Regions from separate parts of the Homo sapiens genome. Here regions 2, 3, 4 and 5 are each linked to region 1. Evidence: promoter capture Hi-C in 16 types of primary human blood cells and fetal thymus (Javierre and others, 2016). All regions are on one chromosome and are shown on one strand. Each heading gives the region's core, a stretch centred on a gene start or on the middle of the fragment in contact. The rest is flanking DNA. Distances are from core to core; before and after follow the strand shown. Region 1 holds the start of MYO1A (myosin IA). Region 2 has its middle 43 kb from the start of HSD17B6. Region 3 has its middle 61 kb from the start of HSD17B6. Region 4 has its middle 77 kb from the start of HSD17B6. Region 5 overlaps LRP1 (LDL receptor related protein 1).

Region 1 (2,845 bases), core at 127-2,626:
GCCCTGGCCAGGGTCCAGACTCCCCATCTACCCCCAGTGCTTCTTCTCAACACCTTACCTCTCACAGCCCCTATTAAAGACACCCAACCTACCCATAACCATTTCAGAAGTTCTTCCAAAGGTCTCTCCTTCCCTGTCATTGCTACAGTGAGCTTCATTTTTAAAATGGGAACTTGACAAGGCAGAATTATAGAGGATAGAGGCAGGATTCCTCCATAAGAGATTGGAATTTCCCAAAGAAAATGAAAGTGGGGTTTGCTTCCCCAACAAACAGGCAGTTGTCAGGACCTCTGGATGTGCTACATGTCTGTCTCTATTTTTCCATCTCTAGCTTTTACACCCACTCCTGTAAACTTCTGGCATGGACTTTGCCCCAGAGGGACACACCTAGCTTCTTGCGGGAGTGGGCAAGGAGGAGCACAGTTGGAACTACAGGGAGGGTGGTGGGGCTTGGCCCCCATGCAGTAGGCACATGGCAGGTGTTCCCTAAGGAGGAAACCTGGCCCTCCTCAGTCTTTCCTGTGAGACTGAGTAGGCAGAGTGGCCAGGCACAGGACAGGATTATTAGTACAATGGTCAAGGCCACTCCTGAACAGGAATGAAAGAGACACATCCTCCTATGCTATTGCATCTCTGAACCCGGGTGGAGGAGCGGAGGAAGGAGGAACGGAAGTGGGGCAAGAAGGGGCACAGGCTTCCTTCTCCCTTCACTTGGCTTTCCCCAAGCTCTAGGAAAAGAGAGCACTTGTCACTTACCAGAAGGACACAACTGAGGAAGCAATAAGAATATCAATAATAGCAGTCTCTAGGAATCATGCAGCGTTTACCACGAACTGGGCAGGGCTCTAAGCACTGTACATACACTAATTCATTTAGTGCTTACAATATCCCCATGAAGTAGATACTATTTTTGTATTTTCTAGATTTTACAAAAAGCTAAGTCTTTTAACTAACTTGGCAGGGAAGGGTGAGAAGCAGAAGGTGGGTTGGGAGCAGTCATCTTCTTTGGATTTGGATTTGAAGGGAGTGGGAATGTGACTGGTTGAGGGTGGGGAAGGGAAAAAGGCAAGAGGCCCCAGATGGGGCGCCCCAAGGTGTTAAAGAGAAGCAGTGACAGGTCAAGGCAGGACTCACCCAACACTGGAACTAGGGTATAACTTCACTGTCCTTGGAGAATGGTGGATGAAATCTCAATTTGACAGGAATGGGGCATAAGAGTCCTGGCCCCAGGATGGAGAGGTGGCTTAATGGGAGCTGTCCATGGTGCAAGGAAGCTGGGAAAAAGGCTGCCCTCCTCTTGCCAGTGTCCACTCTTCTGATTTTCCCTTTTGCTGCCTCTTCCAGCCCAGGCTCCCTGTGCCAGTCAAACCAGGAGAGGCCGGAGATGGCTGATCAGCACAAAGTCCAGACTGTTCCTGCTGAGGGTGTGGCTCACTTAACCCTTCACAGGCCTGAAGCCCCAGAGGGAGACACTCAAGCTCCCTCTAGGTAGGAAAGGGTATCTGGCTGGCGTTAGCTGAGAGGCTTAACTAAAGGAGGGTTCTTGCTCCATTGTCTCCCAAATTTGGAAATGAAAGCTGGAAGAATGGAATTTATAGCCAAGGAAAATATTTCCCAAAGAGAAGTCAGGAATTTTGTCAAGGACAGGTAGGGCCAAGTGCGGTTGCTCATGCCTATACTCCCAGCACTTTGGGAGGCCAAGGCGGGAGGATCACTTGAGCCCAGGAGTTCGAGACCAGCCTAGGCAACATGGCGAGACACGTCTTTACAAAGAGTGTCTTCCTAGCAAAAAAACAGTACCTCCCTCATACCTACTCTTCCTATCTTATCGGGAGTCAGGGGATGTTAATGAGATTACTTGGAGAGCTAAGCAGACAAAATCCCCAAATTCTTCTCCACTTCCCTTCCCCCATGAATCAGACCCTATCATAGAGACCCAAAGATTAAAGTGATTAGTAATAATACCTCACATGTGTATAGATGTCCCAGTTTCATTGAACTCCCCCTTGCATTGCCTCACTGAATAGCACCACCCCGAGGAAGGCAATACAGATACTCCATTAAAATGGAAAACTAGGAACAAACACCAGACTCAGAGAGGTTACACAATGTGCCCACAGTTCCATGCTAGTGCATGGCAGAACCAGGAACAGAATGCAGCTCCCTAAGTTTGCCAAAAGTTGCAGCCCAAGTTCTGAAGTTTCTAATTTTAATTCGTCAGCACTAGGATACTGAGTAAGACCCTGAGCTAATGTAATAGCTCCCTCTGATAGATAAGAAGTACCCCTTCATCCAGCCAGGAAAATTCCTAAAAACAGCAAGCCCCCTCTGCCTACCATCCTCTCTCCCAGGCATGCAGAAAGAACAAATTAGGTAATTATAGACACTTAACTGAAGAGAGACTTGATTCTCCAACTCTCAGCTATGGCTGCTTGGTGCAAGGTCCAAACTCTATGGCTCTCACAGAAGCACTCTGCGTAAGCCTGGCACATCAGCAGTTCTATTATCAACCTGCCTTTACATAATTTATTGATCTACTACATATATTTGAAGGTGGAGGGGGGCAAGGAAAAGAGAGAAAGCTGAGTGGAAGTGACATCAAAACATAATGCTATGTGTAGGTGGAGCAGTATCCATGTCCTAGAGGCAGAAGTGACAAATATCACCTATTTACCAGTGGAGGAAACAGATCTAGAGTGAGAAAACCACTTTTCCAGGGTCACACCACTGCAAACCTGGCAGAGCTGGCACCAAAACCCAAGTCTCATGTTCTCTAGGCCAGGAATCTGCAGCCATCTGGGGTTTACCTGCATGTCCACCCATTCAGTCAACTGAGTGCCTACTA
Region 2 (2,845 bases), core at 218-2,717, 240 kb before region 1:
CAGGGCTTTTATGGGCCTCAGAGGGGAGGAGGTGAGCACTGATTGTTCCATGGGCAGCCATGGATGGGCCTGGAAAAGACACCACAAGTTTCCACTGCAGTCTATGGGAGCAGCAGCCTGGCCCCCAGCCTTCAGGCCCTCCCTGGCCTGAAGGTGGGGCCTCACGTGGGACCCACTCCCTTCCCCCCAGGAACCTGTCTGCCTCCTGCTGCCATTCATGGCACCCAGGCTGTACGTGCCAAGGGGCACCTGCAGGCCAGTGCCAAACTGCCCTTATCACCCCCTCAGCTTCCCTCCTGTGCTCTTTGGCACCCAAGGTCCAGAGGCGGGCTGAAGTGGCAGGGGGCTGGTGTGTCAACACTTCCCTGAGCATGTACACACCTGGCTGGGCTGTGACAGAGCTCAGGCTTGACCATGACTTTGCTCTTAGATCGGAGTGGGTACCGACAGCAGGGAGAAGCCAGGCGGCAGGAGCAGGCACTTCCAAGCCTGTGAGGGCAGGGGGAGAGGACCATCCTGGGTCTCCAAGAGTGCAGGGATGCCTGGGTTCACAGCCACAGTTTGGGTGTCTGCAGCTGCATCCAGGGGGTGGGGGTCCTGCTCTGTGGAGTGGGAGGTCATGCTCTGCAGTCACGACTTGGGTGGCTGCAGCCACGCCTAGGAGGACAGGGCTCCTCCCTGCTCCCAGCACCCCCAAGAGCACAGGGAGGCCTGGGTCTGCAGCCATGACTTGGGCAGCTTAACCTGTGCCCCAGGGGGTGGGGCTTCTTCTTGCTCTGTGCTTTGGGAGGCCCAGTTTGCAGCCATAACTTGGGCAGACTTGTGTCTGCACCTGGGGAGCTCCCACCCTAACAAATCAGAAGGGGCAGGGCTCCCACTTGTCTGAGGCTCCCACCAGCTGCATGGAGTATACAGCTCTGGCTGTACCTCCCTGCTGCAGCCTGTGTGATGGCAGCGGCCACTCTAGATGGCCCACCACTGCCATCAATCACCACTCTGTAGAGGTACATCTAACTGCCGTTAGGATAGGGACAGTGACCATTCTTAACTGCTTCATGCTGACAGGGGGCATTGTTTTTGGGAAAATGGCAGTCAGGTTTTCTCTCAGGGGCCTATATAAGGGTCTCCAGTAAAAGGGAGCCATTGTCCGAGGCTCCATTTGCATGACCATTGGAGTTTGACGGCCCATCCTTTTTGTTTCTTCTGAGCTGCAGTCAGAGATCACTGGTTGGTTCACCCTCACAACTGTCAAAAGCTACAAATATCTCAAAAGGAAAGCTTCCTTGATTCTGAAAAACAAAACGAAGGATCATCAATGGTTCAAGCAAAATGTCAAAAAAGATTACTTCAGTCTTCTGTTAGTTCCGTTCACTCAAAGAAACTCCTGTTCACAATCTCCAAAATTATCAGAAACCTTGGGACAAAAAGGTGCCTCAAGAGGGTGTATGGGCCCATTAAATTAGTCCCAGGCAGCCCTCACCAAATTGCAGCTAGCAACTGGCTGGGGCTGCTCCTCTGTTGCCTCCCTATCATAAGCAGGTGAAGCTGTGGGACCAGTTCCTCCTCAAACAAGGGAGAGAATGGGAGTCCCAGGAATTGGGGACCTGGCCTAATAAGGTGCCTCCTGAAAGGAAAAAAAGCTAACCTGTTGCAAGAAAAAGCTTCCTGTATTCACAGGACTATGACAGTGGCAGAAGGAGACCTGAGATGCCCCTCACGGTTGTGCCAAAGGAGGAGGAGGGCCTAGATTGAAGAGGAGAACTGAAAGACCTGCTCCAGAGTCCAGAAGGAGGTCAACCCTCCTTCCCTTGATGCCCAGAATCACCTGGGGCTCCTGGGTGGCAATGGTAGTCTGAACAACCGGAGCTGGGGAGAGGAGCCCCAGAGCCTGTCAGTCCCGCTGCACTATAAGGGAGGCCGGCCCTGGACCGGGTGACCCGTGTCTCCAGGGATAGTCCGCCCTCTAATTGTCCTCATCACAAACTGGACAGGGTCGAGGTGGCCTCCCCACACTGTCCAGACAGTCCCTCCTAAAATGACCTGGCCTGCCACATTTGCAGTAGTCAACAGGTGCATATCAGGGACTCTGGGGTCCATGAGCCCACAGAGCAGCTATTAGAGCCTCTGCCTTTTTCCTGTATCTCCCCTCTTTTCTGGACTTCCTCCCAGTTCCCACTGCAAAAGACCAACGTGGCTCCTACCAGGAAGCCCTCCAAAGTACCATCTGGTCCCACAGCCCGTTTCTGCTGCCCCCTCCTGACATCAGGGGCCACCTGTGTGATAAAGTCAGTGCCTAGGACCAGCTATTCTGCTACTGAATCAGGAGATAGAGAGGTGTGTTTTACCAAGGCCCCTCCCTCTTAGCCTTTCCAGGAAGCCAGTGGGATTCTCATCAAATCCCTATTCTACCATGAATAGGTTGGTGTAATTCAGGGCCTTAGTCCTTGTCCTTCATAAGCCCTCCGGTATACACACCTGAAAGTGTTTCCTCTTCTATTCTCCTATTTCATCATTGGGGTCCAATTTTCAACCTCCAATGGTACTGCTATTTTTCCAATCAGATAAGTCTCATACCCTTTCCTGGTCCTATATAAGATATAAAGCTCATTGGCCAGGCACAGTGACTCACGCCTGTAATCCCAGCACTTTGGGAAGCTGAGGCAGGTGGATCATGAGGTCAGGAGATCGAGACCATCCTGGCTAACATGGTGAAACCCTGTCTCTACTAAAAATACAAAAAATTAGCCGGGCATGGTGGTGGGCACCTGTAGTCCCAGATACTCAGGAGGCTGAGGCAGGAGAATGGTGTGAACCTGGGAGGTGGAGCTTGCAGTGAGCTGAGATT
Region 3 (2,845 bases), core at 200-2,699, 230 kb before region 1:
TCACTTTTCTTTTCTTTTCTTTCTTTTTCCTTCCTTCCTTTTTCTTTCTTTTCTTTCTTTTTTTTTTTTTTTGACGGAGTCTTGTTCTGTCACCCAGGCTGGAGTGCAATGGCGCTATCTCGGCTCACTGCAACCTCCACCTCCCAGGTTCAAGCAATCCTCTTGCCTCAGCCTCCCGAGTATCTGGGATTACAGGCGTGTGCCACCACGCCCAGCTAGTTTTTGTATTATTAGTAGAGATGGGGTTTCACCATGTTGGCCAGGCTGGTCTCGAACTCCTGATCTCAGGTGATCCACCTGCCTCAGCCTCCCAAAGTGCTGGGATTACAGGCCTGAGCCACCGTGCCCGGCCCAGAACAATTTTCATATAATCTATTGACTTGCCTGCCCTAAGACAAAGGCCGTTGTTTTGAGGTAGCCTTAGTTTACTTTCCAAGTTCCATCTGCTTTTCCACTGGAGTTCAGAGGTCTTTCATGGCCAGCCCATTCTGCCATCCATGACCTTTGATGGAGCCTGTTCTCAGCTCAAGGCAATCTCCAGAAACTGAAGAACATGACCTTTCTAAATGCAAGTAAGAATTCGTCAAAGAAACTTGTGCTGGTTAAAGCTTAAGATAACCGGATAGCCAATAAATTCAGAGATAGAGGCATGACTACTTGGGACAGGCTTTTAAGAAAACTGTGATTATATTTCTTTGGCAAAATTAAAACTTGATGGAAACTCAGGGAACATTTTGTCTAACCTAGATAATAAAAGCAAAGTCATATCTTTTCCTTGTTTAAATGACATGGGGGGGGGCTGGGTTGGATGAGAGTGAACTGGGAGGACACAGAGATCTGTATTTGGAACATGAGAAAATGTGCTAGGCAATCTGAAACAATATTGATCATTACTCTTTTAGCTACATCTTATAAGTTGATTACTTTTTACAGAAATAGAATTTTGTCTAGACTATTGGATAAGCTCTAGGAAAAAAAGTTGATTTCCCACATGAATGCTTGGGATCATCAATTTTCATTTATGCTTTTGATCAAATACTATTTGGCTAATACATTCATAGGGTCCTCTAGTTTTCCCAACCTTTTTATCTATCCCGACTAAGAAATACAGAGTGCCTTGACCACTCTGTGACCTGGCCAGTTGCATGTTTTTTTGCAGGGTTAAGTCAGGTCCTTGAACATTCCCAGGCTCTGGTAAACATGTTTAGGTTGTTGTCCAGAACACTGAAAGAAACTAGCCCCAGCCCTTAACCAAACTCCTCAAACCCTCATATAAACTCCATAACACAACCCCCTTATTGCAGACATAGCTAGGTGGAACATCTCTTTCGCTTGCTGTTGAGAGGATTCCTGCAGCCCCTTTTGTAAGTAAGTTCCCCTGATAAATACTTTAGACTAATTACCCTGGTGTTTAGTGCTTCTCTCTTTGGAATCTCAACCAGCCCCATCTCCAAATGGTTTACAGATAATCCTTCTTGGGAATTTCCCTGCTACAGACTTTGGGGCTCCAGTTTTGGTTTCGGCCTGGACAAAACAACACTGCAGGAATAGTTTAAGGTATTTGCCTTTTGTGATAGTGTCCATTATAATATTATTTTCTTATTACTATTAATTTTTTTTTTTTTAGAGGCAGAGTCATCCAGGCTTCAGTGCAGCAGTGGCGATCACAGCTCACTGCAGCCTCAAACTCCTGGGCTTAAGTGATCTGCTCACCTCAGCCTCCTGAGCAGATGGGACTACAGGTGTACTACCACATCTGACTAATTTAAAATTTTTTTTATAGAGATGGTGTCTCCCTCTGTTGCCCAGGCTGGTCTCAAACTTCAGGGCTCTAGGGATCCTCCTGCCTTGGCCTCTCAAAGTGTTGGGAGTACAGGTGTGAGCCACTGCACTTGGCCTATTATTACTATTATAATTATTTTTCAACCACCTGGTAAATTTGCGAGGGTTGTTTTGTTAAGTAAATAAATCAAAATCTTCCCTGGAAATTTAAGGGAGAAATGTCGAGGAAGAAGTTCATGTCATTTGAGGATAATTGGCTGCACAGTTACTCTTTTGCAGAGGAAGGCATGTGTTTGTGATGGACATAGCAGCTGTCAATATGCCCCCACTATCAGAGGGTATACCAAACCTGCAAACTCTTTGTTTCGGCAGCAAAATATATTAACAAAAATTCAGGAGTGGACAGAAGTTTCTAATTTTGATGTAGTCCAATGTGTCCATTTTTTTTCCTCTTGTTGCCTGTGCTTTCAGTGTCATATCCAAGAAATCACTGCCAAATCCAACGTCATGAAGCTTTCTCCCTGTTTTTTTGTTTTTTGAGACAGGGTCTTGCTCTGTTGCCCAGGTTGGAGTGCAGTGGCATGATCAGAGCTCACTGCAACCTCTGCCTCCTGGGCTCAAACAATCCTCCCTCCTCAGCCTCCCTAGTAGCTGGAACTACAGGTGCATGCCACCATGCCTGGCTAATTTTTGTATTTTTTGTAGAGATGGGGTCTTGCCATGTTGCCCAGGCAGGTCTCCAATTCCTGGGCTCAAGTGATCCACCTGCTGTGGCCTCCCAAAGTGTTGGGACTACATGTGTGAGCCACCACACTCGGCCATCTCCCTGTATTTTCTTCTAGGAGTTTTATAGTTTTAGTTCTTAAATTTAGGTCTTTGATCTATTTTGAGTTAATTTTTGCATATAGTGTAAGGTACAGGTCTAACTTCATTCTTTTGCAGGTGAATATTCAGTTTTCCCGTTACCATTTGTTGAAAAGATTGTCCTTTCCCCATTGAATGGTCTTGGCACCCTCGTTAAAAATCATTTGACCATATATGCAAGGGTTTATTTCTGTGTTAT
Region 4 (2,845 bases), core at 245-2,744, 210 kb before region 1:
TAACGACCTCTTTCTTTGAGTGACTATAGACTTTTTACTCACTGAGAAATCTTGTTCTGTAAAAGCAAAGACTATCAAACACTTCAGTGTTTAAAATTCTATTGTAAGAGGCCAGGTATGGTGACTCACATCTATAATCCCAGCACTTTGGGAGGCCAAGGTGGGAGGATGGCTTGAGGCAAGAAGTTTGAGACCAGTTTGGGGAATAAAGCAAAACCTCATGTCTAAAAAAATTATATCATAAAAATGAATATCCCACCCTTGCCTGAGTCACTTTGACACAGAAGCAGCCTCATTATATAACCCAGGTGCAGAACTTTAGATAGGGGTTGCTGGAAACATTTCACATCTAAACTGTGCTTTCTAATGAAACAAGACCTTGGGACCATTTTGTAATCCAGACCTGGAGTTGATCTCTTTTCACAGAGCCCTGCTTTGCTTGGAGTCTATCAAGAAATTGCTTCATCTCCATATCCTATAATAATTCTCTTTTCCTTTGATCAGACAACCCATGAGTCCCCTGGTATGCAGTCTTCCTCATGGCAATAGGACAAAAGACCTGACTTTGTTGGACCTTAAGTTTATTCCTGGTGCCTCAGGCTGATTAGGAGACCTTTTGGCTTCAGCCTCTCCCTGTGGGGTTTTCTGTCCCTCACCCCTCAGAGGACTTGTGTAGGATGCCAGCTGGCCCTGAGGCCTGTGCCACATTGATGCAAGGATGAGAGTCAAGATCTGCCATGATAAGTCAAGGGAATGTGTAAAATGGCATGTTGGAACTCAGCTGCAGCTGGTCCTGCTGTCCTGCTCGGTGTACCCCCCAGCCACCAGAGGGCCCCAAATGGCCTGCTTTGGAGTTTCTCCAGCAATCATTGAAATTTGGCTCTTGTCTTACAGTCTTTGGTTAGGCTCACAAAGTTTCTGCCAATTCCCTGGGCTGCTTCAAAAACTCTAGCTTACAACTGATGGTAGGAAAACAACACCTAGAAAAACACAGACCATGCCTTAGTGATCAGAATATAGATGTGATTTGATTGCCTCATACTAAGACTCAGCTAGGGGTACTTTTTGAATAATAAAACTTATTAAGAATCCCCCTCGATTAATCAGGTCTTTCTCATCTTATGATTAAGTAAGCTTGGAAAACACTGATTTACACAAGTGATCCACCCTCAGTAAGGCAAAATAAAATGTAGACAGTGTAATTACCTCCTGCTTTAAAGGATGCAGCTAAGAATCCTTTTGTGAAGTAAGTTTCTCCAAATAAGAGTGAAAAAGAATAAGCACCTCTTATTTACTAAGTTAGCATTTTCATGCCCTGGATTTTTGAGGGCCACTGTTCTTGCAGTTTGCTTTCTATACCAGTTTCTATACCTTTATTATCTATACCTCCCTATCTTTCATTCATTCCCTCCTTCTACCCAGATATATACACGTACCACACAACCTGAATATTTCAGAGCAATCTTGATTCCAAGCATTCATTCACTGTTCTCATAAAAATGCTTGTATTTGTCAGTCCTAAGAACAGTCATCATTCATAATGTATCTGTCAGCAATGAAAACACATCCCCAGTATATGCCTAAGCTAACCCCTAATATTTTGTACCTGGAACATTATCTGGCTAACCAGAGACATTGAGGACAAAGCAATTTGTCTGAAGGACAGACTCCCCCACTGCCCCCGCCATCCATCCCCTGCACTGTACTCTGTCCCCCATGCATCCTTCACTCCCTGGGTGGCTGCAGCGATATTCTCTGTCTTGGTGATGTCCAGGGTCACCGTCTCCAGCCTGTCTGAAGTCTGGCCCCTCAGCTGCTCTGCCTCCTTCTCCATCAGACACATAGCCAGCACCCTCAAGCTTTGCGTATCCAGCTGTCTTGCCAGCAGATTCCCGAAGCCCGAGTCACAGCCCATGATGAAGCAGTTATCTCAAGGGAGGCTCACCACCTGTCTCTCCCACTACCAGCGCAGAAGGTAGTACAGGCCCACGAGGGCTATCAGGGAGAGTCCCATGGCAGGGGTCTCTCCTTCACCTTGGGAAAGAAAGAAAATCTTCTAAACCTTAAAAAGTATGTTCTCTGACCACAATGGAATTAAATTAGGAATAAATAACAGAAAAGTATCCAAAAAATCTCCCAGTAGTTGGAAAATTACAAAATATTTGGCTAAATGATACATGCATGGATTAAAAAAGAAATACAAAGAAAAATTAGAATATATTTCAACTGAGTGAAAATGAAAATGTGGTACATTAAAGTTTGTGGAGTGGGGCTAAGCTGTGCTTAGAGAGAAATTTATAACACTAAATGCCTATATTAGAAAAGAAGAAAGGTTTCTTTTTTTAACATTTATTTTAAGATCGGGGTACACGTGAAGGATTGTTACATAGGTAAACGTGTATCATGGGGTTTGTTGTGTAGATTATTTCATCACCCAGGTATTAAGGCTAGTACCCATTAGTTATTTTTCTTGATCCTCTCCCTATCCCCACCCTCAACCCTCTGATAGACCCCAGTGTTCATTGTTCCCCTCTATATATCCATGTGTTCTCATCATTTAGCTTCCACTTATAAATGAGAACATGTAGTATTTGGTTTTCTGTTCCTGCATTAGTCTGCTAAGGATAATGACCTCCAATTCCATCCATGTCCCTGCAAAGGACGTGATTTCATTCTTTTGAATGGCTACATAGTATTCCATTGTGTTTATGTACCACATTCTTTATCCAGTCTATCATTGATGGGCATTTAGGTTGATTCCATCTCTTTGCTATTGTGAATAGTGCTGGAATGAACATATGCATGTATGTGTCTTTATGATAGAGTAACTTACATTCCTTTGGGT
Region 5 (2,845 bases), core at 151-2,650, 140 kb after region 1:
AGTTCACAGGCCAGAGGACAGATCTGTGGCCAGAATGGTGAGGGGCAGAGGTAGGAGGAGGCCAGAGGCACTGGGGTGGGGGCGGGGGCAGGTCCTGTTAGGGAACTGGAGAACGGAGCTGGCTTTTGTGTGGCTTGGTGGTCTCAGACTCCACTGTGCCTAAGGATCGCCTAGGAGCAAGAGAATGTGGAGTCCCCTGCCCCGCCCTGGGCCTAGCTGAGTGACAAGCTCTGGGACCGAGGACCCAGGGCTCACCATCCAATGCCGGTGGTCCAAGGACCACTCTGTCACACCCAGGGTAGTGCATGACCAGCCCTGAGGCCTTCCACAGCCCCCCTCCAGCCTCAGCACCACCCCACAAGGAGCACGGCATAATTGGGGGCTGGCTGTTCCCATTGCCTCCTTTACTGAGAGGAAACCAGGGCTCAGAGGGGCGACAGGCTCATTCAAAGTTGGAGCCGTTACGAGGCAGAACGGTGGCTCCAACCCCAAACATGCAAAGGCCTCAAAGTACGGAGAAGGGGACTCTTGAGAGCTGCTTGAGGATAGGACCCACATACCCCAGGACCTGGGACACATGCCACACTCAGCTCCACAAGGGCTTCCTGAATGATCTGGAAGACAGCCAGCCTCCCTGCACAGAAGAGAGCAGTTAAGAATAAACTCCTGGGAAATACTCACATAGTGTGTGCCATCTGTCCTTAAGATGGAGATTAACTTCTTCCACTCTCACATCCTGCGAGGCAGGTGGTGCTACCATCCCCACCTCATAGAGGAGGAAACTGAGGCACAGGGCAGTTGAGTAAGTTGCCTAAGGGCACCTAGCTGGTGGGTGGTGGAGCCAGGGCTGGAACCCCAGGGCCTGTCTCACTTGGCTGCACCGGCTCTCTTCTCAGCAAGTAGACGGTCACTGCCCAGATACTGCAATGTGAATATCTCACACTTGGCCCTCATCCCCTCACACTCAGCCACCTCGTGTGTGAACTGTCTGTGCAATAGTGGGGCCCTTCCTGGGCATTGGGGCACTGCTGGCCTCTATGGCTCTGGGGTGGCTTTGCCCTGGCAGGCTTCCAGGTTCCAGGTGCCTACGCGTCCTGGCCTGTGCCCTCTGTTGTGGATTCTCAGGCTTTGCCTCCTGATCTCTGGACCCTCTTCCCCCAGCCTCATGTTCTGGACCAACTGGAATGAGCAGCATCCCAGCATCATGCGGGCGGCGCTCTCGGGAGCCAATGTCCTGACCCTTATCGAGAAGGACATCCGTACCCCCAATGGCCTGGCCATCGACCACCGTGCCGAGAAGCTCTACTTCTCTGACGCCACCCTGGACAAGATCGAGCGGTGCGAGTATGACGGCTCCCACCGCTATGTGAGTCTGCGGGGTGGGTGAGCTGGCGGGCGGCTGAGGGGAGGCCAGGGCCAGGGTCAGCCGTCAACCAAGACCGTCCAGGCACAGACATGGTGGGAACAGCTGGGAGGAGGTGAGTGCCTCCAGGCCCCAGCCTCGGTCAACCCCACCCTGTCCAGCTTGCTCCTCATCAGCTAGACGAGGGAGATAGCAGGATGCCTCTGCGGGCCCTCATTCTGTAGCTGTCAGAGGCCAGGCCAGGCTGTGGTCCGGTGGAGACTGGGCAAGAGGCCTGAGCGATGCTGTGACGGTGATGGTGCTGTCTCCACAGGTGATCCTAAAGTCAGAGCCTGTCCACCCCTTCGGGCTGGCCGTGTATGGGGAGCACATTTTCTGGACTGACTGGGTGCGGCGGGCAGTGCAGCGGGCCAACAAGCACGTGGGCAGCAACATGAAGCTGCTGCGCGTGGACATCCCCCAGCAGCCCATGGGCATCATCGCCGTGGCCAACGACACCAACAGCTGTGAGTGGGGCTGCCGCCAGCTGCCTCACCCTCCTGCCTGTCGTGCATGGACATACAAACACACACCCCACACACACATCGCACATACCACACGCACCCTACACATACCACACACACACATCCCACACATACTACACTACACACACCACACCACATACACACACCACACCCCTCCCACACACTCAACACATACACACCACACCATACACACCCCCCACACACCACATACACATACACCCCCAACACATACACACACATACACACCCCACATACACACACCACACATATCACATGCACACCCCACATATACCACACCACACACATACCACACACACACCACACACCACATACACACCACACATACCACACACACCCCACACATACCACATACACACACCACCACACACACTACACATACCACACACACACCACATACACACACCACATACACACACCACACATGACACATACACACCACACATAGGACACACATACACATGCCACACACCTACCACCCACAACACACATCACACACACACCACACAGCACACACACACACCACACACCACACGTACCACAAACATGCCACACACACACACACACATCTCACAGACATACTATAAACACCCCACACCCCACACACCACACCCCACACACACTTGCCTGGTCCTGCTCTCCCTGGGCCTCCATTACACAGACACACACAGCTGTACACACCTTTGGAACCGCAAAACCCCCAGTGCTCCTGTACCCCTTCCCACCAAGGCATCTACGCACACAGATGGACTCTGCACACGCCTGGCATCTCCTCCACGTTGCACACACACATTCATGTCACACCCGCCCCTCAGGGCTCATCCATGCCCTCGGTGCCCCTACCCTCACCCTGGTCACTCTCCTCACTTGGAGCCACACAGACAGCCGAGAGCCTGGGTGCACGTGCCCTCAGTGGGCACGAGTACATGCCCCAGCGCCC

What was found. Contacts are between HindIII fragments. The CHiCAGO score rates a contact against its expected background, and 5 or more counts as called.
Region 2: a fragment that was not itself captured here is called in contact with the fragment with the promoter of MYO1A in region 1 in 3 of 17 cell types (erythroblasts, M2 macrophages and M0 macrophages); the score reaches 7.7 in erythroblasts.
Region 3: a contact is called between a fragment that was not itself captured here and the fragment with the promoter of MYO1A in region 1, in 4 of 17 cell types (M2 macrophages, erythroblasts, M0 macrophages and 1 more). The highest score is 6.6, in M2 macrophages.
Region 4: a contact is called between a fragment that was not itself captured here and the fragment with the promoter of MYO1A in region 1, in 1 of 17 cell types (M0 macrophages). The highest score is 5.1, in M0 macrophages.
Region 5: a contact is called between a fragment that was not itself captured here and the fragment with the promoter of MYO1A in region 1, in 2 of 17 cell types (erythroblasts and naive CD8 T cells). The highest score is 6.3, in erythroblasts.

What each region holds. Positions count from the first base shown.
Region 1 is chr12:57,048,753-57,051,597 of GRCh38, forward strand. It overlaps MYO1A (myosin IA), which reads right to left and starts at 1,377. Exons shown (of 28, transcript NM_005379.4): 1 at 1,135-1,377. The HindIII fragment of the contact is 12,080 bases long and covers 1-2,845 here.
Region 2 is chr12:56,804,552-56,807,396 of GRCh38, forward strand. No RefSeq gene overlaps it. Among named protein-coding and RNA genes, the nearest start is that of HSD17B6, 43 kb to the left of the region's middle. RefSeq lists an enhancer at 119-768. The HindIII fragment of the contact is 383 bases long and covers 1,277-1,659 here.
Region 3 is chr12:56,823,133-56,825,977 of GRCh38, forward strand. No RefSeq gene overlaps it. Among named protein-coding and RNA genes, the nearest start is that of HSD17B6, 61 kb to the left of the region's middle. The HindIII fragment of the contact is 1,687 bases long and covers 607-2,293 here.
Region 4 is chr12:56,839,262-56,842,106 of GRCh38, forward strand. No RefSeq gene overlaps it. Among named protein-coding and RNA genes, the nearest start is that of HSD17B6, 77 kb to the left of the region's middle. The HindIII fragment of the contact is 725 bases long and covers 1,133-1,857 here.
Region 5 is chr12:57,189,644-57,192,488 of GRCh38, forward strand. LRP1 (LDL receptor related protein 1) reads left to right here. Exons shown (of 89, transcript NM_002332.3): 43 at 1,162-1,366; 44 at 1,677-1,869. Among named protein-coding and RNA genes, the nearest start is that of MIR1228, 3.4 kb to the right of the region's middle. The HindIII fragment of the contact is 5,411 bases long and covers 1-2,845 here.